Regions from separate parts of the Homo sapiens genome. Here regions 1, 2, 3, 5 and 6 are each linked to region 4. The links are contacts of gene promoters, found by promoter capture Hi-C in human tissues and cell types (Jung and others, 2019). All regions are on one chromosome and are shown on one strand. The core of a region is centred on a gene start or on the middle of the fragment in contact, and the rest is flanking DNA. Distances in the headings are between cores, read along the strand shown.

What was found. Contacts are between HindIII fragments. The study calls those that stand out against the background at their distance.
Region 1: a fragment that was not itself captured here is called in contact with the fragment with the promoter of CASP3 in region 4 in 3 of the 25 tissues and cell types used here (IMR-90 fibroblasts, hippocampus and spleen).
Region 2: a contact is called between a fragment that was not itself captured here and the fragment with the promoter of CASP3 in region 4, in 2 of the 25 tissues and cell types used here (lymphoblastoid cells and small bowel).
Region 3: a contact is called between a fragment that was not itself captured here and the fragment with the promoter of CASP3 in region 4, in 6 of the 25 tissues and cell types used here (IMR-90 fibroblasts, bladder, dorsolateral prefrontal cortex and 3 more).
Region 5: a contact is called between a fragment that was not itself captured here and the fragment with the promoter of CASP3 in region 4, in 1 of the 25 tissues and cell types used here (lymphoblastoid cells).
Region 6: a fragment that was not itself captured here is called in contact with the fragment with the promoter of CASP3 in region 4 in 1 of the 25 tissues and cell types used here (liver).

Annotation. Positions count from the first base shown.
Region 1 is chr4:184,804,564-184,807,362 of GRCh38, forward strand. All of the region lies in intron 1 of ACSL1 (acyl-CoA synthetase long chain family member 1), which reads right to left. Among named protein-coding and RNA genes, the nearest start is that of ACSL1, 20 kb to the right of the region's middle. The HindIII fragment of the contact is 5,427 bases long and covers 1-2,799 here.
Region 2 is chr4:184,852,931-184,855,630 of GRCh38, forward strand. MIR3945HG (MIR3945 host gene) reads right to left here. Exons shown (of 3, transcript NR_132989.1): 1 at 2,539-2,700. Among named protein-coding and RNA genes, the nearest start is that of MIR3945HG, 1.4 kb to the right of the region's middle. The HindIII fragment of the contact is 4,150 bases long and covers 1-2,700 here.
Region 3 is chr4:184,513,949-184,516,921 of GRCh38, forward strand. All of the region lies in intron 1 of LINC02427 (long intergenic non-protein coding RNA 2427), which reads right to left. Among named protein-coding and RNA genes, the nearest start is that of LINC02427, 22 kb to the right of the region's middle. RefSeq lists enhancers at 350-439, 490-559, 570-729. The HindIII fragment of the contact is 4,259 bases long and covers 1-2,973 here.
Region 4 is chr4:184,648,003-184,650,745 of GRCh38, forward strand. It overlaps CASP3 (caspase 3), which reads right to left and starts at 1,445. Exons shown (of 8, transcript NM_004346.4): 1 at 1,393-1,445; 2 at 463-629. It overlaps PRIMPOL (primase and DNA directed polymerase), which reads left to right and starts at 1,736. Exons shown (of 14, transcript NM_152683.4): 1 at 1,736-1,906. RefSeq lists silencers at 953-1,162, 1,173-1,752. The HindIII fragment of the contact is 11,001 bases long and covers 1-2,743 here.
Region 5 is chr4:184,496,282-184,499,176 of GRCh38, forward strand. No RefSeq gene overlaps it. Among named protein-coding and RNA genes, the nearest start is that of IRF2-DT, 23 kb to the left of the region's middle. The HindIII fragment of the contact is 5,525 bases long and covers 1-2,895 here.
Region 6 is chr4:184,787,169-184,789,992 of GRCh38, forward strand. It overlaps ACSL1 (acyl-CoA synthetase long chain family member 1), which reads right to left. Exons shown (of 21, transcript NM_001995.5): 3 at 1,449-1,563. Among named protein-coding and RNA genes, the nearest start is that of ACSL1, 37 kb to the right of the region's middle. The HindIII fragment of the contact is 5,273 bases long and covers 1-2,824 here.

The DNA.
Region 1 (2,799 bases), core at 292-2,791, 160 kb after region 4:
AAGTGAGACCCCGTCTCAAAAAAGAAAAAAAAAAAAAAAGACCCTAGATGCTAGAGCCAAATTCTGCCTCCCTGGCATATGAGCTGTATGATTTGGGACATATGACCTCCCTTCCCTGTGCCTCAGTTTCCTCATCTGTAAATGGAGACGGAAATAGCACCTTATCTCGCAGGGCTTTTCTGACTGCTAAATGACTCACATAAAGAGGTAAGAATGATCTCACACACGTTAGAAAGTGCTCAAAAATATTAGATTTTATGATTATTTCCTCTACCAACGCTCTGTGATTCATCCTGAGTGCAGAACAAGTAAAGCACGCAGGTAAAAACACTGCCTACAAGGAGTGTTCAGACAAAATTAAGAAGCTTCTGCACAGCAAAAGAAACTACCATCAGAGTGAACAGGCAACCTACAGAATGGGAGAAAATTTTTGCAATCTGTCCATCTGACAAAGGGCTAATATCCAGAATCTACAAAGAACCCAAACAAATTTACAAGAAAAAAAACAAAAATTTACAAGAAAAACAACAAACAAGTGGGCAAAGGATATGAACAGACACTTCTCAAAAGAAGACATTTATGCCACCAACAGACACGTGAAAAAATGCTCATCATCACTGGTCATCAGAGAAATGCATTGTGGTTTTGATTTGCATCTCTTTTTCTTTGTTAAAATACAGAAATTTTCTGCTAAAATTTAAATTTAAATGAAATTAATTTTAAATTTAATGGTCTCTGTTTTACAGGCCATTAATACTACCAGAACCAACATAATGTATTTGCTCTGCTCATTCAATCTCTGCTACAATGAATCCATGTAAGTGTACTCACTCACACACACACACACAAACACACACACGAAATTTCAAGGTTTACCATGACAGCAAAGAAAGAACAGATAAGCAGATTTCTTCAGGCCATGGTTCTGGAAAGAAGGCACCAGCACTTAACAAAACCACTCACCATCTGTGCCACCAACAGCTGACTACTAGGTGACACCCCACTGCAGACACAGAAGAGGGCAATGAGCCTGGAAGTGGGCGGGGGTTAGCAGGGCTCAGCTGCGCTCCCCCAGCCTACCAAGGTCTCTCAGGGCACAAGTCACATGCCGAGCCCCACGCTGCTGCCCACTGGGCTAAAGGTAACTAGCAGACAAAATCCACACTTGACTTCTCAGGAGAGCAGAGGGTGGAGGATAGGCCAATGGGCAGCCAGCAGCAAAGTCACCCCACTGCTCCACCCATGGGCAGGGACAGGCATCAGTGAGTGTTGCTGCCAGGACCGGTTCTGAAAACAGACACTGTTTTCTTTCTGCTCAGCTTCCCAATAAGAGACAACGGGCATATATTTTTTAAACCACTGAAATGAAGGATAGGATGCCGGGTGGTATGTCTAACCAAGGTAAGGCATACCAAGAAAGAAACAGATTGCCCAGAGCATGCTGACAGCAGATTTATTCTAGACGAATACATAGGAATTGAGCTACTCCCGTCACTGCATATCTGAGCACCTAGTGTGAGCCAGGCTTTGGCCAGGCGCTGGGAAGACAGTGTTGATGACCTGGTCTAGGCTTTCAGTGGGCTAACCTTCTAGCAGGGAAGATAAAAATCAAACAAGCAAGGTCTGCAAGGCACGGGGGAAGGCCTTTCTGAGGAAGGGATGTACACCAGGCGGGATAAGCAGACAAATCAAGTCCATGTCCTATTGACACTGAGTGTTCAGATTTCAGAAACAGTATTGCAACTCCACAACCTCAAAGCAGCCTTGGGAATATAATGTGCAAACTTGCCTTGCCCTCAAATCCTTCCACCTCTAGTTGTCTTCATCACCCTGCAGCACTCCAGGCCTGAATAGGAAGTACTCACCCCGACACACACTGCCATGCCTTTCTCTCTTCTCTCCCCAAAGCTCCTAGAGTAACTCCCATAAAACCTAGATTGTGTGAATTTGCAGGTGCTGTTCAACAGGATCACATCCCTGAGTGAGAATCTTAAATAATTCCTCTGTAAACAAATACAGTCAGACACAGGGGATTAATTTGTCTATTTTAAGCATCAGCAGTAGCCATGCTATAGACTGCTTTACACCAAGAAAGTTTATTAAATCTAAGAAAGAACACTTTAAAAAAAAAACTTCAGAAAATTATATATTTAGTAGCATGTGTACAAGAACATTTCATTAGATACTAATCTATAATACTAAGGGTTTGAATCCAGCCAAATTCCTATATTTAGTGGGTGATAATGACAAACTATAGCAGTTTAATTCATGCCTCTTAAATGGCAGCCAGGTAACAAGCTGCAAGCCAACTTCACTGAACAAACTGATTAATGCTATACATAGGAAAACTATAGTCTATGCATAAAGAACTAAGACAATAGCTCATTTAGATATGTGTGAAGAACAACTCTTAAACAGACACTGATAGCATTATAAATCTTTTCCCTTCTATTAACTGCTATTAAGGAAAAGGCACTTGGGGTATTTAAAAATGGAGGTACACCTACATCCAAAGAAAATCAGGCACAAGAAATAGTCTTTCAACGCTGTATGTGAACATAAGCATTAGACTAAGGGGTCTCTAAGAAGGACTAAGACTCATACACTTGCTAACAAATGGTAAAACTCAGACAGATTGTATTCTTATTCCAGTAGTGTTCTGGTTTGAATATTTCTTTATTCTTTCAAAATCAAATTTCCATATAAACATCTAAGGAAATTTATAGCCTGGGCATGTAAATCATGCCGCTGTTTGCCAAAAATATAATTCAATTGGCTTAAAGGCTTAAGGAGCCAGTA
Region 2 (2,700 bases), core at 18-2,517, 200 kb after region 4:
CACTGACTCTCTCCCGTGTCCCGCTCCCCAACTGTGGGTGCCCCAGATGTGTCAATCCTCATTCTCCGATCTTCTCTCTTTATACTAGATTCTAATTCACCTTTATTCATCTATACTCCCAGAGTCAAGTTTTGATTATGTATATATAACCAAATGGCATATAACTCTATCTATCTATCTATCTATCTATCTATCTATCTATGCCATCTCATTTCATGTCTTCACGAAATATCTGTTAGCTGTTTTTCTCCAGATTATCATCCTTCCTTAAGTGCTGTTGTGGTAGCAGTGGTGGTGGTAGTAGCAGTAGTAACAGCAACAACCTCTATCATATAGTAAATGCTAACTATATCTCAGGTGCTTTAGTAAAATCTCATTTAAGCCTTTCAATGTTATACATTGATATTGCTGTTGAACACATTTTATAGAGGAGGAAACAATCTCAGCAGGTTTAACGGTGGTTCCCAGTCACACAGCTAACACAGAACACGGCCTTGAACTCAGATTTTGTCTGACTAAAGTTTGTCATCCTATTTCTGTGCTAAAGCTTCTACAGCAGTCCCTGTTGCTTACCAGGTGAGGCCCAGCATCCTCACGGACCATCCCGGATCTCCGTAACGTAGCTCCACTGATCTGCTCCAGTGACTGCCTTCTGCTCCCAGAGTGGCACCTCCTTAACCACCCTCACCTTCCTACGCAGTGAATGAAGTGCAGACATGAATCCTGAGTCTGCCATTTAGTACTTCTCTAAAACTGACTTCTTGTATTTGTAAAATACCCGCCTCACAATCTCAGGATTGCTGTGAGCATCGTATATAATGAGTGCAAAGGGCCCGGCATAGTGCAAGGGACATGATAGGTGCATAACGAATAGGACCCACTGAGGCTGTTACTCATATTTCTGCTCTTGTGCCTTGTTCGTGTTATTCTCTACATATGAAATGTTTGTACTTCCTATTGCTCTGGCCTGACAGTCCTTAAGGGCTAAATTCCATCTTTACTAAATGTTTCCTTGGCTCTAACACACATTGATCTCTCCCCTCCCCAATTCTGAATGCACTTTCTTTTTTCTTTTTTTTTTTTTTGAGACAGAGTCTCGCTCTGTCGCCCAGCCTGGAGTGCAGTGGCGCGATCTCGGCTCACTGCAAGCTCCGCCTCCCGGGTTCATGCCATTCTCCTGCCTCAGCCTCCCGAGTAGCTGGGACTACAGGCGCCCACCACCACGCCCAGCTAATTTTTTGCATTTTTAGTAGAGACGGGGTTTCACCGTGTTAGCCAGGATGGTCTCGATCTCCTGACCTCGTGATCTGCCCGCCTCGGCCTCCCAAAGTGCTGGGATTACAGGCGTGAGCCACCGTGCCCGGCCCTCTGAATGCACTTTCTATATACACCAGGTGGCTGGTGTTATCTACTGTCTTATTCTTGAATGGCTTTGGGTAAGCGAGCCTCATAAGTTACTGGTGAGCTTGCTTGTATTGCTTCTGTGCTCCTCTCAAAGCTACTGGCACACTGTACCAAAGTGATTTGTTCATTGATTGATGGAGAAATGTAAACATTGGGACAAATCAGAGAGAAAAAAGGGCAAATTGGACATTATCTTGTTCGATTTCAGTTGGCAGTCAATGGTTTGTGTTCAAATTATCCTACAGAGGCTTGAACCAGGAGGGGAGGTTCAGAAAACAGATGGTGGGAAAGAGAACAGATCTCTGTATTATGGAGCTTTGACTTTAAAATTATTTCTCTTAAAGAAGAGATAGACCCAAAAGGAAATGATCTGAGATAAATTTCCAGGGACCAGTAAGACAGAAGTACCACTAAATATGAAGAGGCAGTGGACTGGGAATAATGAGAGAAGACCCAGGCAATCATGCCTGTAAGTTACGATAAAGAAAACAGGAAGCACATTTCGACAGAAAAACCATACTTTACATTAAAGAAGTGAGATTGTGTCTGTTGCAAGAGTGAGAGGGAAAGCCCGCAACGACCTCAGGGACCCAGTGAATTAGCTCACGGGAAGCCCAGGGCCTCTTTTGCTAGCTGCTAATGAAGGGAATTAGATAACCATGTTATTTTGAAAGAAAACAGATTATGTTTATTGAATGATCTAAAAGAAGCGAAAAGGGCTAGGTAAAGATGCCATGTTTTGGATTCTGATGTTGGGTCACACCAGGGCGCCCATTCTTCTGTATTCACAAAATGCCCAAATAGGGAGAGGTCTTGCCAGGCGCGTGAACTCGCCACTGTGGCTGAGCAACAAAGGTACATTGAAAGGAAGCGTGTGTGTTTGTGGCTTTGAGCCCCTTTTCCTATTCTGCTGAAGATTAGGAAATTATAGGTTATACTGCTTGAAATGAAGACAGAGTAAATGGTAGGAGGGTTGTAAATCACCTGCGAAGCACCGTCTTCGACCATGCCATATAGCAAGGCTACCCAAAACACTCCAGTCTCTAATTTGTTCAACTTAAAGAATAAGAGGGATATGTCAGTCAGGACCTGCTAACTGCTGTATCAGACAACCCCAGATCCCTAACGACTTACCTCACAGTCATCAGGGGCTAGACAAGTGACCTTCCACACGATAATTCAGAGATACTGCTCCTTTCCTGTAGTTCTCCAGTCCTCAGCACAGGGTCTCAAGATCATCTAGCATCGACCAGTCAGCAAATGTCGGAAGAGGAAAGATAGCTTCCTTAGTCCCTA
Region 3 (2,973 bases), core at 1-2,500, 130 kb before region 4:
TCTGACATCTCTGAGCTTCTTTCCAGTGACATCACTCATCTTAGGGTGGTACGGATGAAACCCAACCACATTGCTTATGCCTCTTTTTTTAGCTTCTTTTTATTATGAACTCTTTCCTCCTAACACATTTAAGGGGGTGGTGCAAGCGTGTACATGTGAACTTTTGCTTGTTTGAATTGAGAAAATGACGAAGCATCAGGAATGTCCTAGTTTTGAATATGCAATATCAGCAGATCCTTCTGTGCAACTCTCCCAAAAAAGGGTGAGATTCTGTGTATGCATATGCCTACACCATCCTGGCAGCTCCTCCCCCAGGTCCCCCCTGTGAGCTCAGCCTAATGACTAGTCCTCAAAGATTGTCCCTGAGTGGAACTGAGATGTTAAGGTACATTTTCTAAATGTGGAATTTCCTATTCAGGACTTCCCAACTCATTCCTGTACCACCCCACTAGAAGGAGGATGGACAGATTCGCTTGCTGAAATGGCGAAGCAAGTTCCCGCAGCTGGCCAGGCTGAGCTGTTTCTGAAGCTCAGAGCAGCTGTGACTCATCCCTCCTGCAGTCCGTTAACTTCCCACTCCTGTCACCAGACCAGCTACTCCTCTCGCTCTGACTCCTACAAACCCACTTATTTTCAAATTTGCTCAATAACCATGACATTCAAACCCAACATGCTCTGTGCACAGGACGCTGTGAAAACACACAGTGAGAATTAAGGGTCCACAGAAGAAATAATGGCCAGAGTAAGAACTGTTTTCTTGGATGCTGGGTGATGAGGAATAACTGCTAATAAGAGACAACAGCAAGTATTAGGACATGTGCCATCAGGCCCAATTGAGTTAAGGGAATGCAGTCATCCTAACTGGTGGTTTTCAGAAAGCCACACAACATTTTAATTGAATGCACAGGCTTCTGCATGATTAGGAACACAATACTTTGGTGCCCAGGCCGGATTGAGCTGGTAACAATGAGCTGAAATGGCTTCCTGCCATGAAGCAGAGAAGCTCAAGCTTATTCTCCCTGTGACACTTCCAGGCCCTGTTGCAAAGTCACAAAAGAAACTCAAGAAACCAATTTTCAGAGACGGTTTAGAGCTTTCCTGCATGGTTCCAACTACTCGTGTGATATAAAAATGGAATGACTGCAGAAGGAGGATTGCAGCTGGATTTCGGGGAAACTTTCTGAAGAATGGACAAGAGGAACCAGCAGCCTGGTGCAAAGTCACTGAATCAAGTAGCAAGTAGCACCAACTCCTCCCATCCTCCCATCAGACAGCATGAATTTAAAGTGGTCTCCAGTCATGCAGCCATTTCACAGAGTTTGCATCTTAAGCCCACCTAAGATATTGTCAATAAGATATTGTCTTGAATTCCCAGCCAGAGTCCAGGGAATCCAGAAGTTTCCAAAACTTTGAAAATAGGAAATATTCAACAGAGTTATTCAGCAAATATTTGTTCAGCGCCTACCACATTCCAGTCACTAATAATTGGCATGGATATCAGCCCAATAAAATTAACCATTGGACTATCATTGGGAACCCCCGAGAGACATATTCAACACGAGCCTGAATTAAAAATACAACTAAATTTCTATATTGTGATTTTTAAAATGTGTTTGCTTTAAAAGTTCAATCAAAATGGGCCTTTCACTTTAAACTCAGCTCTGGACATCTCTATGCAACTCTCTGTGGAAGGTTCACCGAGATGTCCCTCAGAGCAGCTCTTTCATCTCAGCATGTTTATACATGAACTCATTGTCTTTCCTCCAAATTTGTATGTCAGTTGGTGGCACTCAATCACCCAAGTCAGGACCTGTGAATCACCCTTGCCCCCTTCTACTCCCTTACACTCAAGATCCAATCAATCACCACATCCTATCACTTTTACCCCATAGACACAACTCCAACAATATAATAGCCTCTTCTGTAGACACTGTAGTAGGCGCACCACAGATGGGCACTATTGTTATCATGTGCATTTTACGGATAAATAAACATGGCTGCAGGGGTTAAATAACTTCCCTAAGATCACACAATCAGTATATGGCAAAGCTAAAAATCAAGCTTGGCTGGGCACGGTGGCTCATGCCTGTAATCTCAGCACTTTGGGAAGCTGAGATGGGTAGATCACGTGAGGTCAGGAGTCCAAGACCAGCCTGACCGACATAGTGAAACCCCATCTCTACTAAAAATACAAAAATTAGCCAGGCGTGCTGGTGCATGCCTATAATCCCAGCTACTAGGGAGGTTGAGGCAGAAGAATCACTTGAACCAGGGAGGCGGAGGTTGCAGTGAGCCGAGATTGCACCACTACACTCCAGCCTGGGCAACAAGAGGGAAACTCCATCTCAAAATAAATAAATAAATAATAAAAAATAAATAATAAATAAAAATCAAGCTCAAGTCCTTCTGAATTTAAAGAGGAGGATTTTGAAGCTCTGTGTCTCTAATTCAGCAATCTCTGCCCTAATGTAAACCTCATTCTTTCTTCAGTCTCCTTACTGGTTCCTCTGCCCACTGCCTTCACTTTTTTTAGCGGCTTTTCTACATTTATAATGTTTTGTTTTTGTTTCTGTTTTTGTTTTGAGCCAGAGTCTCACTCTGTCACCAGGCTGGAGTGCAGCGGCACAATCTCGGCTCACTGTAACCTCCGCCTCCCAGGTTCAAGGGATTCCCCTGCCTCAGTCTCCCGAGTAGCTGGGACTACAGGCATGTGCCACTATGCCCAGCTACTATTTTGTATTTTAGTAGAGATGGGGTTTCACTATATTGGCCAGGATAGTCTCCATCTCCTGATGTCACGATCCGCCCACCTCAGCCTCCCAAAATGCTGGGATTACAGGCATGAGCCACCTCGCCCGGCCCGTTTGTTATGTTTTTTAAAGTCGAGTTTATATGGGTATAATATACAAAAGTAAAATTCACTCCTTTTAAGTATAGTTTGACAAGTTTTGACAAATGCATATGGTTGTGTAA
Region 4 (2,743 bases), core at 195-2,694:
TTCTAATCAAATGTGATGGCGGGAGAAAGGGAGTGCAGAGGTGTTGCAGGCAGACACTAGGTATGAAGGTCAGCATTGCCGTGCAGAAATCGAACCGGTGCTAAAGATAAGGAGGGGTGGGGGCACTCAGGACCCAACACACGCAGGGGTTTGTTAGCCATATTAAGTGCTGGGTTTAACCTAAGGGCAAAGGACGAGCTTTCTAGACTTTCATTTCATAAAGATCCCTCTGCCTGTGCTGTAAAAAGTGGACTGCAAAGGAGCAGGCGGGTCTGGAAGTGGAGAGACCAGGGAAGAGGCTGCTGTGGTCAGACGGCTGAAATCAGAGATAGAGAGACGCGGACAGATCTGGCAGACATTTACAAGGTCGACAAGGCTTGGCGACTAAGCAGGAAAAGAAGTGGGTGGGCGAGAGGGGGCTGCGAACGATGTTTTCCGGTTTCCTGCTTGGGTGCCACTTACTGAGAATGGGGGAAGAGGCAGGTGCAGGGCACACCCACCGAAAACCAGAGCGCCGAGTGTGAGCAGGGCTCGCTAACTCCTCACGGCCTGGGATTTCAAGGCGACGCCAACCAGCTGTGGCCACGGATACACAGCCACAGGTATGAGCTGCGAGCACTCACGAAACTCTGCAGGGCCGAAAAGGAATTGGAGTTTAAACCCTGCAACTATCTCTCTGGAAGAGCTAAACCACATTGTCAACCCGGGATAATCCAGGCCCCAGGCATGGAAGGCAGCAGAGACGGAAGCCTCGTCCAAAATTGGAAGGATCAGCCCCCAGGGCGAGTATCTCACAGTCAGCACCCGGCCGCCCCAGCCCTCGCAGCACCGCTTCCCGGGGCCACTCCTCCGCCGGCGGTAGCGCCGTCCGTTTCCCAGCTTGCCGCTGCCTTCCGCCGCCTGACCCGGCCTTCCGGCACTCGGCCGGCCGCCAGGTCTCCCGCCCTCGGAGCTCGGTGCCCCGTGCCCGACCTCCCGGCCCCGGGCTCGGTTCCCCTGGCCAGGCCTCCCGCTGCCTGGCCTCCCCGGCCCGGCCTCGCGCTGCCCGGCCTCCCCGGTCCCAGCCCAGCCTCCCGCCCCCGGGCCAGGTCTCCCCTCCGATGACCTGAGGCCTTTCCTTAGGTTACCCCCAGGTCCCTCTCCCTAAATCAAAAGCCTTAACCCGCTGCCTGGCTTCCCCGGCCCCGGCCCAGGCTCCCGCCTCCGGGCCAAGTCTCTCGCTCCGCGGGCTTCACTGCTCGCCCCCGCCCGGGCGAGGTGGCAAAACAAACACTCCGCCTTCCAGACCGGGCAGGTACCCGGGCGGGCGCAGGGCCTGGGAGAACGCAGGGAGCGGGGGCAGGGCTGACGGCCCGGAGCGAGGGCGGCAGTCACCGCACAGCCTCCTCATACCTTCTACAACCGCCTCACAATAGCACCCATCCGCTAGGAGCCGCGTCTGCACTGCTTCCGCGGCCCGCCGCCGGGAGATGTGCTCCAGCGCCAGCCCCGCCTCCCGCCCGCCCCTGTCGGCCCCTCGCGCCGCCTCCGCTGCGGCCCGTCCCCTAGCTCCCGCCCGCCCGAGAACCCAGCCCCAGGCTGGGCCCCAGGAGGCGCCCGCCCACCGCAGCGCGCCCCGCCCCCGCGCCCCGCGTCCTCACGCCCTGGTCCCGCCCTCGCGTCCCGCGCCAGTCCTCCCGCTTTGGTCCCGCCCTGAGGCTCGGCCCGGCTCCCCCGCCCCGGATTTGAAATCTAGGTCTTCCTGAGAGTCCGCGGGCTTCCGCTCCCAGCGCGGGATTCTGGAGGGAAATTGAGGGAGACTTGGAAACCGCGCCAGGCCCAACGGGTACCTAGAAGGGAGACAAAGCCAGGCCTGCTGCCCAGTTTGAGCTCTGGGAAGAAGAGGAGCAGGCCGGGACGCCCACCGGTAATTTCTGTCTCCTCTGCGATGACCTGAGGCCTTTCTTTGGGTTACCCTCAGGTCTCTCTCCCTAAATCAAAAGCCTTAACCTCCTGTCATCAGGGTGCCAGGCTAGAAATAACCAGGTCCACGCATGCTGTGTTTTCCACCATGTCAGGCTGCTGTGGACGCTCTTTCGATCACAAAAGCCACGAGCTGCGTGGAGTTCCCAAGGAGGCAGTTCTCAGCACTTGCTGGTCACTGGGTAGTCAGAGCCTGACACACAGGCTCAAGCCGCTCACGCATCATAGTAGTGTACTTAATCCACATATAAATGTTACAAGTTAAGCATCCCACAACAAAGTAGCATTTAACATCATGAGGAAAAAGAGATGGGGCAAAGAGATTAACGAACCAATCCAGAGGGAGTGAAGAAGAGGAAAAGAAGCCTGGTTTGGGCCGAGAGGTCCTTCTGCAAAGACGGCGTCAATTAAGCCGGCTGTTGGGAGCTGCCGAAGGCCCCATCTTTTATAGTCACAGAGTCCTGTGGTGAGAACTGGTAATGGAAGAGAGTGCTTGTTTGTGTCCTTACCTGGCTGGATGCGGACTATTTTTTTATTTGTTTATTAAAGTATAGTATGCTTGTTGGCAAATGCCTTATGAAATGTAAAAATGGGGTCTTCTCCTAAGATGGAGTTATTAATGGTTACGTCAATGGTGTGCTATATACACTGCCCTACCGATCCCCTTCCTATTTTGGGTCGTGAACTCATTTCAGACCCTGAAGCAAACTGTGAATCATTTTCGCAGAAGAATTCACCAACACATGTGAGCACGACATTCTGCATCAGATTTCAAAAAGTT
Region 5 (2,895 bases), core at 101-2,600, 150 kb before region 4:
AGAACCTTTCCCCTCTCTCTCTTCCTCCTACTCCGGCCATGTAAGATGTACTGCCTGCTTCCTCATTGCCTTCCACCATGACTGAAAGTTTCCTGAGACCTCCCTAGAAGACAAACAGATGCCAGATTCATGCTTCTTGTACAGCTTACAGAACCGTAAGCCAGTTAAACCTCTCTTCTTTATAAATTACCCAGTCTCTGGCATTTCTTTATAGCAAAGCAGATATACAGAGTATATCTTCACAATTTTTCTATAAATCTATGACTATTCTAAAATAAAACTTTATTCTTCACGATTCACTGGATAGGATTAGCAGAAAATTAGACAGAAAAGACACAGGGACAGAAACTCATAGTAATCGAATGTGTCCAAAATAAAGCACAGAACTTTTTTTTAAAAGACTGAAAGAAAAAATGCACAGAGACTGAGTGACTCTCGGGACAATGCAAAGCTGTCTGAAAAATATATATAACTGAAGTCTCAGAATGAGAAACAGAGGCCAGAGAAAAATATTTGAAGAAATAATGAACAAAATTTTTCCAAGTCTGATGAAAGTAATTAAGATCACAGATCCAAGAAACTCAACACACCATAAGCAAGGTAATCAAACAAATAAAAAACACAATAAGGCATATCATAATCAAATTTCTGAAAACTCATGATAAAGAGAAAAATTTTTAAAGCAGCCAGAGAAGAAAATAACATATTATATACAAGGAACAAAAATAAAGTTAACAGCAAACTTATCGGAATCTTGCAAGCCAAGACAATGGGATGACACTAGTTCATAATTAGATCCAGGAATTTAATTTTAAAAGCCCTGAACATACAACTTAGAACTTAATCAAAGAGGTAAGATTTGCATACTGGAAGCAATTAGGAAATGATTCCAGGGCAATGCATCAACTTGCATCTTATACGTAGACAAATTATGCCACTGATTTCCTAAAGTAACCTTTTGTCCAAGACAGAGTCCATAGTTGCAACAGGTTGAATGGTGACCCCCCCAAAATATATGTCCATGTCCTAACACCCAAAACCTGTGAATGCAATCTTCTATGGAAAAAAAAGAGTCTTTGCAGATATAATTCAATTAAGGATGTTAAGATGAGAAGATCATCCTGGATTACATGGGTGGGGGCCCTAAATCTAAGGACATTATGAGATAGAAGAGAAGACGCATACCCAGAGGAGAAGTCCATGTAAAGATGGAGGCAGGGATTGGAGTGATGCAGCCACAAGCCAAGGAACTGCAAGAGCCACCAGAAGCTGGACGAGGCAAGAAAGGATCCTCCCTAGAACCTTTGCAAGGATTAGGGCCTTTTACTGGCACCCTGATTTCAGATTTCTGGTCTCCAGAACAGTAAGAGAATAAATTCCTGTTTGTTTGTTTTTTTTAACCACCAAATTGTGGTAATCTTTTACAGCAGCCCTAGAAAACAAATACAATCAGTCATTCACCCTGAATCTCCCTGAATCTATGACCCCATAAGAAATTCAGCAAGTTAGATCAGGTTTGAAGCCAAGAATAAAGGTCATATTTATGCTTTTGCTGTGTACTTAACATTAATAACTAATGATTAAATGCTTTTATCTTTGTAAATACACAAAATGAAGTAGGTATAGAACCTATAAAGGGGTAAAGAACTCACAGCACAAGTCCCAGAGTCTGACGAGCGAGCAGGCCAGGCCTCTCTGCAGGGTGTTCACTCTACTCAGACTTAGGACATGTCACTTTCCCCTCTTGACCTCCATATTCAGATCTGGGCATAAGAGGAAGTGGGTAAAGACCCCTCTAGCTTTAACACTCCTCCAATACAGACAGAACTCTGAAACCAGAACAAGAAGCTGAGGAATGGTGAATGGAGCATTCTCACTGGCATGATGGAGGAACCTGCAGATCTGGCTATTAGGATGGTGTCTCGCCATGTCAATGCCTCTGCAGAATTGGATCCTAGCTTTCAAATCAGACTCAAAACTGATCTTTAGTGTTGGTGGGTTTGTGGGGTTTTTGTTGTTGTTGTTGTTGTTTGATTTTTTTTTTTTTTGAGACTGTTACTGACACAACAGCTTCTGGTGGAACTCTTTCACGGAGAGTATGGGGGCTTCTTTGGCCAAATTGGCCGAGTGCAGGTTCCATCTGCTTGGCAGCCTCTGTCTGGGCCACAGCGCGTCCACAGCATCCTGCTCTTCTACAGAGGTTTCTTCAGACATTGCAGTGTGTCTGGCCATGTCATTTGTCACCGGTGTAAAAACAACAGAGCCTGCAGCTGCTGGCTGAGTGCCTGCAGCAGAATCCTGCTCCTCACAGGTGCAGCTACAAGGCGCCCCTGCTCCTTCCAAGAAGACAGGCACAGGGACGGCCAGATCCTACTCTCTCAGCCACGGCAGTCTGTGTGGGCAGCAGGCCCGAGCTCTACCCCAGGACCTTCTTCTCGACTTCCCTTCCCCCAATTCCCACCAGGCAGTAGCACAGCTTCTCTGGCACGACTGGGGACTGGGCGCAGGGAGGGGAGGGGTGGCCAAGGGCCTGAGGCAGGTGGGCGGCCTGTGGCCCCCGAAGGACACCTGCTTTGGCTAAGACGCCTCCTAGGGCTGCCCCAGCCTGGCTCCAGGCCTCAGCCTCTGCTGCCTCCAGGAGCCCCAAAAAGTTGTTTCAAGAAGGGATGAGACAATGCTGAAGATGAAGCCCACAGCAGCAGACCATTCACATCAATTTGCAAGGAAAAAAAAAGTCTTGTTCATGCCCCCAATTAAAGGGGACTGTCAATTAACAGCAGAAACAATAGCTAACACTACAGACATCACAATTGGTTCAGCTTACACAATTCTGACTAAAAAATTAAGTTGAGTGAACTTTCCCCTTAATGGGTGCCAAAACTGTTGCTCCAAGAT
Region 6 (2,824 bases), core at 294-2,793, 140 kb after region 4:
GTACCTGGTATAAGCAAAAATGAAGTGGCTAAAATAGAAAGAGGGGTGGAGAAACCAGAGGTACTCCCTCCTTCACTGAGGATGCATTAGTGGGGCGCTCACTGTGTGCCAGGCACTGTCAGTGCTGTGAAAAGAGATGACTGATAACCACCCTGTTCTCAAGGAGCTCGGGCTAGGGGGGCAGAATGCCAGGTGAACACCTCTGTGCCATCAGGAGTTATGCAGAAGGAATATAACATGCTGGGAGGGAAAAGGGAAGAAATGCTTCACTCAGAGGTAGGGGATGAAAATGATAGACTAGGAAGGTTTTAGAGAAAAGGTGAAATGCAGTGAGTTTTGTAAGATTAAAGAATACATCAAGCACCCAGGCTGGGGGTAGAAAGAGGCTTTATGATCAAGAAAAAAAAGTGCATGGCCGGGCATGGTGACTCGCGCCTGTAATTCCAGCACTTTGGGAGGCCGAGGTGGGTGGATCACCTGAGATTAGGAGTTTGAGACCAGCCTGACCAACATGGAGAAACCCCATCTCTATTAAAAAATACAAAATTAGCTGGGCGTGGTGGTGCATGCCTGTAATCCCAGCTACTCAGGAGGCTGAGGCAGGAGAATCACTTGAACCCAGGAGGTGTAGGCTGCGGTGAGCCAAGATCATGCCATTGCACTCCAGCCTGGGCAACAAGAGCAAAACTCCGTCCAAAGAAAAAAAAAAGTGCACAAGTCTGGGCATGGTGGCTCACACCTGTAGTCCCAGTGCTTTGGGAGGCTGAGGCAGGAGACTCACTTGAGGTCAGAAGTTTGAGTCCAGCCTGGGCAACATAGCAAGACCCCATTTCTAAAAAGCAAAATAGAACTGCACAAAGCCTCAGGGCTGGGAGAGAGCAGAGGTAGTCGTGGCTCTGCAGGAAGTTCAGTATGACCTGAGGGCCCTATACAGGAGGCCTGGGAGGGACAGAGGCTGGAAAGGAGGTATGCTGGATATCACAGGGTTTCTTACACTACAGTTAATAATTAAGGGTAATCCCATGAGCCAACATTTCCCAAGTATCTTTAACAGAACACTGCCATCCTGGGATGTCAGTATTTCTTTCTCAAAATATGGGTCTCATGGTCAAGTAAGCATGAAAAATGCCGGATTGGGCCCAGTTCAACAGACCTCTTTATTGCAGGAAACGTCAGAGCCTATTGTGCACTGGTGTAACATGTGACTCACCATAAAATACAGGATGTGACACTCACATATTTGACCATGGAGCCCCCAGGGCCACAGGGAACATCTAGAGGGTCCAGTGAGCTTTGGGACCGACTCTGGGAAAGTTACAGTGGACACAGAGGGGCCTGAGCGATCCTAAGGAGGCGAAAGATAGGAGCAAATGTGCATTTCTGAAAGGCCACTCGTTCTTCATGAAACACGGCGAGCGGGAGCCACGCAAATGCAGGAAAATGCTTACTTGACACCTGTATTCCCCTCTGGAAACCTTCGTATAATGTTGTGACATCATCATAGAAATACACCAAGGGCTCGTCGCTGTCAAGTAGTGCGGATCTTCGTGCACCACCACTACCCTATCAAAAAAGAAAGGGGGGCAGGTTAGAAGGCAGTGAAACATCTATGCACTGTGGAATGGCTAAATCAAGCTAATTAACATATCCATTCCTTTACATTCTTGTCACTTATCTGTAGTGAGAACACTTAAAATCTATTCTCTTAGTAATTTCAGGTATATGGTACATTGTTATTAACTACAGTCACCAACTAATAGTGAACATGGTCACCATTTTTATTAAAAATAGATGTCCTGAACTCGTTCCTATTATACACCATAAATACACATAATTTGTATTTGTCCATTAAAAAATAAAATGCTTAAAAATTAAATATAAAGTCTAATATGCCCCTGTGGTATCCGCACCCCTCTAGGCGGCCACCTGCGGAACAGCTGCCCAGTGAGTGAGTGCTGAAAGACTGCAGTGCAAGATGTGCTGATGTAAACCAATCATTCGCCTGGAGGTAAACACAGGCTTCGGGGAACCACGGCTAAGTCAGAAAGATGCCTGAAGAGAGAAAACAGGTTTACAGACCTACAAGTGCTGGTCCTGCCGGATAAGGCCAAAGAGAGCAAGAGAAGAGCCACAAACTGCCACCACTACACACATTGACAGTTCTCAAGCCACTGCCATCCACAGCACAGAGGACTGATCCTGTTCAGCTCTGGTGGAAATGAAACCCCATTTGGTTATACTTCTAAAATGTTACCTATATTCTTTTTGAGACTATTTCCACTATTTTATCTCCTCACCAAGCGCAATATCATCTGTTAGAAACTTCACTTTCTTGCATAGCATCTCTAACAGTTAAAATCATCAGCTACAAAACATATGCATGTGCAGACACAGGTCTTTATTAGTTTTAGGTGCAACATTTATAGGTGTGCAGATTTGACATCGCTGTGCACCTTTCTCTAAGTCGTCTTCATCTGTTAGCTTCCTGAGTATATTTGCTATGTGCAAGAACTCCTAATGATGGATAAGGCGGCAGGGCCTAGCCTCCCACAGTAGCAGCAGTAGTCTTTACAGGTAGCAGGTCTCCAATGTGAGCTGCTGAGTCCTCTGGGGCCAAAGGACACTGTAAGGCATCCAGACATCCACAGAAAGCCAAAAAGCAGTCTTTAGAGACTGATAAATAAAAGCTCAGTGACTATGACGTTAGAGCCTACCTTTTTTTTTTTTTTTAATTTCAGAGAGGGGCCTTCACTTTTACAACAGTCTGGAAACCCTTGGAGAAATTAGACTGTGATATGATAACCTCTGGTACCAAGAGGAGAGA